Linked DNA regions of Homo sapiens: region 2 is linked to region 1. Evidence: promoter capture Hi-C in human tissues and cell types (Jung and others, 2019). All regions are on one chromosome and are shown on one strand. Each heading gives the region's core, a stretch centred on a gene start or on the middle of the fragment in contact. The rest is flanking DNA. Distances are from core to core; before and after follow the strand shown.

Region 1 (6,905 bases), core at 2,405-4,904:
TTTGACCTGAATGGAATTAAATAAGAAGTCAGTAAGAATAGCTAGAAACCCTCCAAATACTTGGAAATTAAATAGATGATGCACAGAAAGGCACTGCATTCATCAAGTGCATGCAATTTTTTTGATGACTTTCACTGTAAAAGGGAGCAGAGAGATAGGGTAATGAGTGTAGTCAGAAATCATGACCCTTCTCAGCCAAGCGAGGTGGCTCACACCTGTAATCCCAGCACTTTGGGAGGCCGAGGCAGGCGGATCACGAGGTTAGGAGATCAAGACCATCCTGGCCAACATGGTAAAACCCCGTCTCTATTAAAAATACAAAAAAATTTAGCTGGGCATGGTGGCGCACGCCTGTAGCCCAGCTACTCAGGAGGTTGAGGCAGGAGAATCGCTTGAACTTGGGAGGCAGAGGTTGCAGTGAGCCGAGATCGCACCACTGCACTCCAGCCTGGGCGACAGAGTGAAACTCTGTCTCAAAACAAAAACAAAAACAAAAGAAAAGAAAAAAAGAAATCATGACCCTTCTCTTGTCAGAACCCGGCAGTAGATCTCGCTGACCTCAGATAAGATCCACACACAATCTTGGCACCCTAGGCTTTCCCCAGTAATAGCCTAACCCCCTTTTCCCATCTGAGTTTCTATCCTCCATGAACTTCCTTTTCCAGGCAAAAAAGACAACTGATACCCTCAAAGTCAGTCAGTTGCACAGTCCAGGTGGGTGCCAAGCACTGTGTCAGTGACCCATGAGGAGCCAGACAAGGTGCCTGTCCCCTCAAAGAACTATCTCAAAACCAGTGGGACAGTCAGACAGTTGAGATATACCATGCCAGCCGTGGAGTCCTCATATAATAAAGTGCTCTGAAACTAAAAAGGACAATGGAAGTAATTCTGCCAGAGAAAACTCAGGAAAGCTTTGTAGTGGACAAATATCTGTAGTGAGGCAACTTTTGAGACAAATACGGAAACAACACAGCCTGAATAAGTGATACTAAATAAATTCTGTTAATTTTCTTGGGTATGATCATTAATGCTGAAGTTGTTTTTCTTTAAATTCCTTATTTATGAGAGATGCATACTGAACACTGAAGTATTAGATTGGTGCAAAAGTAATTGTGGTTTTTGCCATTTACAGATGAAATGATATGACATTTGAATTTTGTTTTAAAGAACTACATCAGAGAAGTGTCATACACAAGTTTTACTTCGTTCTACATTCACAGCAGCTCCACGAGGTTAAGTACCTTGCTCAAAGTGACAGTGACAAAGGGAGAGACCTGGATTTGAACTCACTCTATGAAGGGTCACTCAAGACACCAAATCCTGGTATAGACCCCTAGTGAAAGAGACAATTTCCAAAGAGATCCACACTTGGGGTTGCAGATTTGGGGGAAAGAAGACAGGTGAGTCATTTGTAAGTGGTGAATCTGAGTGATGAATCCATGGAACTTCAAAACTACTTCTGGATATCTTTGCAATGTTTTCATACTGAGAAGTTAGAAATAAGAGTAGGTCTTGGCCGGGCGCAGTGGCTCACGCTTGTAATCCCAGCACTTTGGGAGGCCGAGGCCGGTGGATCAGGAGGTCAGGAGTTCAAGACCAGCCTGACCAACATGGTGAAACCCCGTCTCGAGCGGGGTGCGGTGGCTCACGCCTGAAATCCCAGCACTTTGGGAGGCCGAGGCGGGCGGATCACGAGGTCGGGAGATCGAGACCATCCTAGCCAACATGGTAAAAACACAAAAATTAGCCAGGTGTGGTAGCGCGTGCCTGTAGTCCCAGCTACTCGGGAGGCTGAGGCAGGAGAATACCTTGAACCCGGGAGGCGGAGTTTGCAGTGAGCCGAGATCGCGCCGCGCCACCCCACTGCACTCCAGCCTGGCGACAGAGCAAGACTCCCTCTCAAAACAAACAAACAAACAAACAAACAAAAAACAAACCCCGTCTCTACTAAAAATACAAAAAAAATTAGCCGGGCGTGGTGGCGGGCGCCTGTGGTACCAGCTACTCAGGAGCCTGAGGCAGAGAATTGCTTGAACCCGGGAGGCCGTGGTTGCAGTGAGCTGAGATCACTCCACTGCACTCCAGCCTGGGCGACAGAGTGAGACTTCATCTCAAAAAAAAAAAAAAAAAAAAAAAAAATGTAGGTTTGGATGCCTTCCACCCAACTTCTTCCCCCACCTCCAGGAATTCAAGGAGTCACTCAACAGCCCCCTGAGGCTTGAGAAAAATGTTCCTTGGCCCTATGGGCACCATTCTGCTTGTTGCAACCCATGCTCCCGGAAGGGTCCCCAAGTCCGAGGGAGCCACACAGCTGCAGAAGCCGACAATCTGGATACAAGCACGCCCCCATGCAACCCACAACCCAGGGATGTCTAACTCCAGGCAAGCCCTTCTCAACTCACCAACTTGGGTCCCCAGGCCCCAAGGCTACTGACCCGAGTCGCACGGCCCTAGCCGTCCCCCCCCCCACTATCAAGACCAAGTCTGGATGTCTACCCACAAACAATCCTCCCCCACAAACCCGGGTCCTAGTGGCCAAGCTGCACCATCACCACCACAGTGCACCAGCCATCCACAAGAGCCCTAATAACTGGACTGAGGTTGGGCACGGTGGCTCACGCCTGTAATCCCAGTACTTTGGGAGGCCGAGGCGGGGGGATTACTTGAGGTCAGGAGTTCGAGACCAGCCTTGCCAACATGGTGAAACCCCGTCTCTACTAAAACACAAAATATTAGCCGGGCGTGGTGGCGTGCGCCTGTAGTCCCAGCTACTCGGGAGCCTGAGGCAGGGGAATCACGCCACTGCACTCCAGCCTGGGCGACAAGAGCGAAACTCTGTCTCAAAAAAACAAAACAAAACAAAAACCAAAAAATTAGCCGGGCGTGGTGGCGGGTGCCTGTAATCCCAGCTGCTCGGGAGGCTGACGCGGGAGCATGGCTTGAACCCGGCGGCTGGGGTGGGGCGCGGAGATTGCAGTGAACCGAGATTGCGCCACTGCACTCCAGCCTGGGCGACAGAGAGAGACTCTGTTTCAAAAATAAATAAATAAATAAATAAAATTTAATAAATAAACAAATAAACAACCCGACTGATGCCCAAGCCGCGTGCCTCCCACTAATGGGGAAGTTTGCTCCAACCGAGGATATCATGTCCTCCAAAGGCACATTTGCTGGCCCAGAGACCTCCGAGGCGCGATGGTGGGGAGGGGATGGCGGGATACTAGTGGCAGGATGCTGTCTGGGTACCCCAGGCAGAGCCCACTCAGCGGCCCCCGAAGTACCGGGGACGCACCTGCGAAGTAGCTCGGGAAGTCGGTCCCAGGCCTGCACTGGCCCCTCCAGGTCAACATACTGGGCCCAAAGTCCCGCCAGAAGCACGCGACAACGCCAACGCCCCCTCCCCACCAGAGGACCTCCGCCAAGACCTCTCTCCGGGGTGGACCACGCACGCCCAGACCCCACAGCCGAAACTCAAAACACCAAGGAACATGTGGCCACGACATGGACTGCCCATGCCAGCTTTCCCGACCTTCCTTCCAGTGGAAGGCCCGCGAAAGCGGGGACCACCTCCGGGCTAGCTCACCAGAACTGTGAAAGGACACTCACCACGCACCAGGCGACGATGCCGGAACGCGGAAGTACGCGAGCCGGACTGCCCCTGGGCACGGAACTACACTACCCAGACTGCCACGGGGCGCGCAACTACCCTACCGTGGATGCCCTGGAGCGAGGGACTACAACATCCAGAATGCTGCGAGGGGCGGGACCGCAGCATCCAGGAGAAATTGTGAAAAATCAGAAAGTAAAATCTAACTTTCGGGTCTATGAGAAGGGTGGTCAGGTGAGCAGTAAGTCTTCTTTAACTTTTTATACGGTCCTTCTAATTTTTTTTTTTTTTAAAAAGATGTTACATGTCCTCCATCCTGCAAATTCACACCTGTGATTGTACACCCCTGAACTTTATCTACTTACTTATTTTTTGAGAAGGGGTCTTGCTCTGTCGGCCAGGCTGCAGTACAATGGTGTGATCATAGCTCACTGCAGCCTCAAACCCCTGGCCAAGCAATCCTCTCACCTCAACTTTCTGAGTAGCTGGGAATACAGGTGCATAGCACCACACCGGGCTAATTTTTTGTTTTGTTTTTTAGAATCTGGGTCTCGCGGCCGGGCGCGGTGGCTCACGCCTGTAATCCCAGCACTTTGGGAGGCTGAGGCGGGCGGATCAGAGGTCAGGAGTTCGAGAGCAGCCTGGCCAATGTGGTAAAATCCCGTCTCTACTAAAAATACAAAAATTACCTGGGCGTCGTGATGGGCGCCTGTAGTCCCGGCTACTCAGGAGGGTGAGGCAGGAGAATCACTTTGAACTCGGGAGGTGGAGGTTGCAGTGAGCCAAGATCGCACCACTGTACTCCAGCCTGGACAACAGAGTGAGATTCCTTCTCAAGGGGGAAAAAAAAAAAAAAGAATCTGGGTCTCGCTATGTTGACCAGGCTGGTCTGGAACTCCTGGCCTCAAGCAATTTTCCCACTTCAGGCTCCCAAAGTGCTGGGATTACAGGCGTGAGCCGTCCTTGTGGCCCAGGCTGCCTTTCGAGTTTATTTAGGGCCCTCTAGCCAGAGGTGGTGAGATTGGCAGTAACTCAAATTCCAACTGCTGGGATAGGTGATTCTCCTCGGGCTAAGGCTGGTGTAAATACTCCCTCCATGCGTGAGAATCAGCTGTGTTTGATCCAGTTTTGCTTTCTGGTATAACAGGGCAGCACTGAGTTCAATGCAATGTCTCATCATTGCTGTGCTTGCCGTCTCCCAAGAACATAGATTCTCTCTCCGCACCACAGAGCCACTGCTGGGGGATGGGTCAGGGGCATTGGTGATTCAAGACTGTCTTTCCTACCTTTTCAGTGCCTCTTTCAGTCATATGAAGTAAAAACCAGGTACTGCGAGTGCTTACCTGATTTTTGGTTCTTGTGAAGGTGCTTTTGTGTGTAAATAGTTGTTAACTTGTTTTTCTTACAAGGGGGAATGATCAGTGGAGCCTTCCATTCCACCATCTTGCTCCACCTCCCACCCCCATGTTTTAAATGACAGTGTGTATGAATGTACTTCTAAAAATGCCAAAAATACTGGGGTTTTTTTTCCTGTTATAAAGAAGAAGATTCTGAAGTTTTTTTTTTAATTCCAATTGATTACAAGAAGATAAGGAAAAACTAAACTTGAGGACATTTAACACTATAGCAATTAAAGTTATCTTACTAATGCAAAGATTGTTTATTAGATGTAACAGAATAATACGCTCAAAAACATACCAAAGTCTTTGCAAAATGAGTTATACTCTTTTTCTAAGAATTTGATAAAAAGTGGTATTTTTAAGTTACTTCCTATTTGCTTCTTCTCAAAATGAAGTAACAGGAACCAGATTTAGCCCTTCACCTTAATCAACATTTAAAAGGACAAAATATATGAAACATTTGAAGACATTTGACATCAGACAATGAAGAGCAGTGGAAATCATGGAGGTGAGCCTTTGAACTTCCCGCAGATGGAGAGAATTTCCAAGTCATAGCACAGAGAAGGGAAACTCAAGTGAAGCATGGAGTTCAACTTGAGGAGATGGAACTGGGAATCTGAGGAGGCATATGCATCTAGAGTTCACAGGGCAGAGTACAGAAAGGGAGAGAGAGCGCCAGAGATGTGCAGAGAGTCCTCTTCCTCAGGTATTAGTTAAGTGCTGACCAGCATGTACATGTGAGGAAACTCCTCAAAATTAGGGGTAAAAAACACTAGAAAGGGTTAGAGGGCAATACTGTGAGCTCAAAAAGAACAGGAATAATGTCTGTTCCCACGAGACAGAGTGGAAATGCTAATTCACATGGCATCAAGTCATGTACTCGGAAGGGTTTTGCCTCAATAGTGGGGCAAAAATTAACCTAAATGCTTCTCTGGTCTCACCTAACAGAGCTTAAATCCAAGCCTAGAAAGGACTGAATTGTTCCCAAGTAACTTAACTGCATCCCAGATAAAAAGCTCAAGAATATTTAAAAGAATACAAAACTATCCAGCATCCAATAAGGCAAAATTGGGGACTTTTTTTTTTTTTTTCTATTCTTACACCTGCTTCCATCCTAAGACCCTGGATTTTAGAATTCCAATTAAAAAAATGCTAGCATGCAAAGAATATATTCCCCAAAATGAAGAGAAAAGTCAACCAATAGAAATTACACAGAAGATATAATTAAAAGGTAAGGACACAAGCTGGGCACAGTGGCATGCGTCTGTAGTTGCAGCTACTTAGGAGGCTGCTTAAAACGATTGGGACAATTGCTTAAACCTAGGGGTTCCAGACCATCCTGGGCAAGACCCTAGCAAGACCCTGTCTAAAAAAAAAAAACCAAGATAAGAGCACTAAAACATTTATTGTAACTACAACTTCAAGAAGCTACAGGAAACACTTCGAGACCCTGTCTAAAAAAAAAAAACCAAGATAAGAGCACTAAAACATTTATTATAACTACAACTTCAAGAAGCTACAGGAAACACTTCAAGAAGGGTTTTTCTATACATCATGCCATACTGGATGGTATGATGATTAATTTTACATGTCAACTTGGCTACACTATAATGACCAATTATTTGGTAGTAGTCTAGATACTACCATGTAGATATCTTACATGTGTAATTAACATTTTCAGTCAGTTGACTTTAAGGGAGATTACACTCCATAATGTGGGAGGGTTTCATCTAATCAGTTGAAGGCCTTAACGGCAAAATCTGAGGTTTCCAGAGAAGGAATTCTGCCTTAAGACTCTAACAGAAATCCTCCCTGATGTTTTAGCCTGCTGTCCTGCCCCGTGAATTTTAGACTCAAGATTGCAATATCAACTCTTACCTGAATTTTCAGCCTGCCTG
Region 2 (3,153 bases), core at 52-2,551, 1.2 Mb before region 1:
CAAGATGGTGAAACTCATCTCCACTCAAAATACAAAAATTAGCCGGGCGTGGTGGTGGGTGCCTGTAATCCCAGCTACTTGGGAGGCTGAGGCAGAGAATTGCTCGAACCCGGGAGGCGGAGGTTGCAGTGAGCTGAGATTGCGCCACTACACTCCAGCCTGGGTGACAGAGCGAGATTCTGTCTCAAAAAAAAAAATATTGTTATTAGCTCAGGTGATCTTCGTTGCTTATTTCCTTCTGTATCTGGTAGATTGCAGCACCTCGTCATCGTGACTCTGCTTTCTTTTGAACTTGTTAACGTAGAGATATTCGGAGGTATAAAGACAAGCTCTCTTCTAGAGCTGTCTTGGGGAGTATCTTGAAAACAGAAGGTAAAGGATTTGGGGCTGGCAGCAAAGACAACTCTGCAGCTTGAAGCCAAAGGATCACCCAATAGGTGGCCCATTATTGTCTCGGGTTAGAAACACTGCAGAAAGAAATGCCACATTTGACCTACGCTCCCTCTCCTTCAAACTGTAGAAAGGAAAACTTAAAAATACCTAAAATTGTCACCTGACTTTATTCTTTTAAGAAGTGAAAATGACGTGCTCAGATTTCATATTCGAGTCCCCACAATTAGGAAGCATTTAGCATTGGACTTTGGTGTCAACTCTTGGGAATCTAAGCCTAGTTTGGATCTCAAGGCAAGTCGTTTCCAGTTGATTTAATTAAGAATATGACTTTGTGAAATATAAAAGAACAGTGAGTTTTCCTTTTGAAAAGAATTTGAGAACTGCAGAGGAGGAAACCACTTGCTTCTTTGAGCAGCCTCCATGGCTTTGTGAGGGACCTGCTCTTGGATAGAACTCTGCTACTTTATGGAGCTCTAAGGCCAGAATCACCAATAAGTAAAAGATAGTCCAGGATTAGAACCATGACAGGGCAGAACCAGATGTGAGAAATGATTGGTTTGTTTGGCACGCTTCAGTACTGAGAGGTTGTGTGTGTGTGTGTGTGTGTGTGTGTGTCAGAGAGAGAGATACGCTTCTTATCTTCAAGTAAAAAGAAGAGGGTTTCAACTAGAAGTTTTAGCCAAAGTTTTATTACGGGAAAGAGATGAGTCCATTGGTTGGCCTGTGGCATAGCCCACTGGGCAATTTGGCATCATGGAGGCCGCCTTCTTAGAATGAGTGCCAAGCTTGCTTATTGTAGTTTTTGCATAGAGTGAATGGTGAAGTGGAATCGCTGTAGACCAGCGCTTCTCACACCGATGTGCTGAGGAATCATCTGAGGGTCTAAGTGCAGGGCCGATTTCGGGGGGCGGGAGGTGGGATGAGGGCTGGGTCTGCATCTCCAGCTACCTCCCTGCAATGTCCATGGAGCTAGACTTCTCAGCACAAACTACTGCTAAGCCAGCAAGCCAGTTCCTAAATTCCTGTTTGCCAATACCAAGTAGAGAGTTGCCCAACTGAGTTAAATGTTTTGGTCTGTGTTTTATTTTAGTTCTTAGTTTGATTTTAGCTTTTCCTTTGTTCTTAGTATACACTTTTTCAGGCACTAACGTTATCATTATGATATAAAAGCTCAATGTCAAGTAGAGTTTCTTTTGCATATTTACTTTCTCGTTTAACACAAATATAACAAGCACCCCATAAGTGCCATTTGCACAACAGCAAATAATGGGGACCCCCATATCCCTCTGTGTAGCCTAAGGTCTTTTAGGGGAGAGACAAGTTCACAGGCAAAACCAGGGGAAATGCAAGGTGTGCTGGGGTCTCATGAGTTACAGGAGGGTCTCGCTCAGCCTTGTGGGGGATGCTGAATGAGGAAACTTAGCCTGAATTAGAGCCCCCAGCTGGAAACCTGGCAGCTGGAATCCCAGCGCTCTCCTCTCAGCCGGGGTTGTTCCCGCCCAGAAATATCAGGGTTCCTCTTTCAAGCACTTAAAAGGGCTTCCCATTTTCTAGGATGGGATGGATTAACCTGATAAAGGCCTCACCAAGGTCAAATAAATGAGCAGACACTGTATATGCTAAGCCGTCAGAAATCTAATTGGCCTGTTTATGCTTCAGCTAGATGGATGGGATGCAAATGTCTTAATGTGGCTGCTGATACATGCCCCAGCCGAAAGTTCCAGCAGTTTACATTAGACCAAGACATTGGCTGCTTGGTTTTTACTAATGTAGTTCAGAAGTTTCTAGTGTTTACAATAGCTGTGAGGTATTTGTATTTTTATGGGGATTCTCTCTCCTTTCATCTGATGTCAAAACATATATAGACATGGCAGCACTGGTTGCCTGTTCCATTTTATGAACCAGAGGACCATTAACAGATAGATATCTTGCCCCCCCCTTCCCAGAACATCCTGAGCCTCTCCCCTACCCCAGCCCACTTCCATCAGAGTTGCCCTAGAAATCATTAGTTCCAGAAACGCATCCCTGCGTGGAGTCTGTGCCCTCCAGCCATGCAGAGTGTCTGCCAGAGGCTGTCCCTGGCTGACAGGTTTACCTTGGTATTCATGAAGGATTCCAGACCTTAGCCCTCAATGGTGGGAAAGCAGAACTACTTCTGCACTCTCCTCCTCTGCCATGGTGCTGCGGCCTTTATGTTTGAATTGGCTGACGCAAAACAAGAGTATTCAGAGATGCTAAATTGTTCAACAAAAGATTGGCCCGCAGAGCAGCCCCGCCATTGTGGAGTGCCCTCACCCAGCACAATGCCCCAGCTCCCACAGAATGGGCAGCATTTTCTTTGCAGAAAGCTGGTTCCTGTGTTCTAAAAAGGTTGCAATTGGAGCTATTTGGTAAAACTGGAACTCACAGAATTCTAGGCAGAAAGTTGTGATTAATGAAAGGCCAGGGAAAGCCTTACCTGATATGCTAGAGACTTAATTAGAGATTCTGCCGTAAGATGCAGAAGCATTTCACAGTGGATTAGCAGCCTGCAGAAGTGGGCTGCTTTTCCTCCTGGGCTAAATTGTTTAAATTCTACACCCTTCACTTCATTTGTTTGCTTCTGCTGGGTTTTCACGAGCGGGGCCCCTCGGCATTGTGTTTGTGCTTTCAGTCTGCCCAGCCATTCAGGTCGCATTCCATATTTTTGTGTTTGTGTAACACATTCATAAATAACATTACATGCCATCAGAGTTCAGCAAATTAACAAACTAATTTTTT

The links. Contacts are between HindIII fragments. The study calls those that stand out against the background at their distance.
Region 2: a fragment that was not itself captured here is called in contact with the fragment with the promoter of ZNF169 in region 1 in 1 of the 25 tissues and cell types used here (dorsolateral prefrontal cortex).

Annotation. Positions count from the first base shown.
Region 1 is chr9:94,256,047-94,262,951 of GRCh38, reverse strand. ZNF169 (zinc finger protein 169) reads right to left here and starts at 3,654. Exons shown (of 5, transcript NM_194320.4): 1 at 3,607-3,654. It overlaps LINC02603 (long intergenic non-protein coding RNA 2603), which reads left to right and starts at 3,641. Exons shown (of 3, transcript NR_160773.1): 1 at 3,641-3,841. RefSeq lists enhancers at 2,197-2,842, 3,172-3,301, 2,843-3,489, 3,332-3,651, 3,490-4,135. The HindIII fragment of the contact is 11,443 bases long and covers 1-6,720 here.
Region 2 is chr9:95,450,184-95,453,336 of GRCh38, reverse strand. The region is part of intron 20 of PTCH1 (patched 1); the gene reads left to right. Among named protein-coding and RNA genes, the nearest start is that of PTCH1, 58 kb to the left of the region's middle. The HindIII fragment of the contact is 5,168 bases long and covers 1-3,153 here.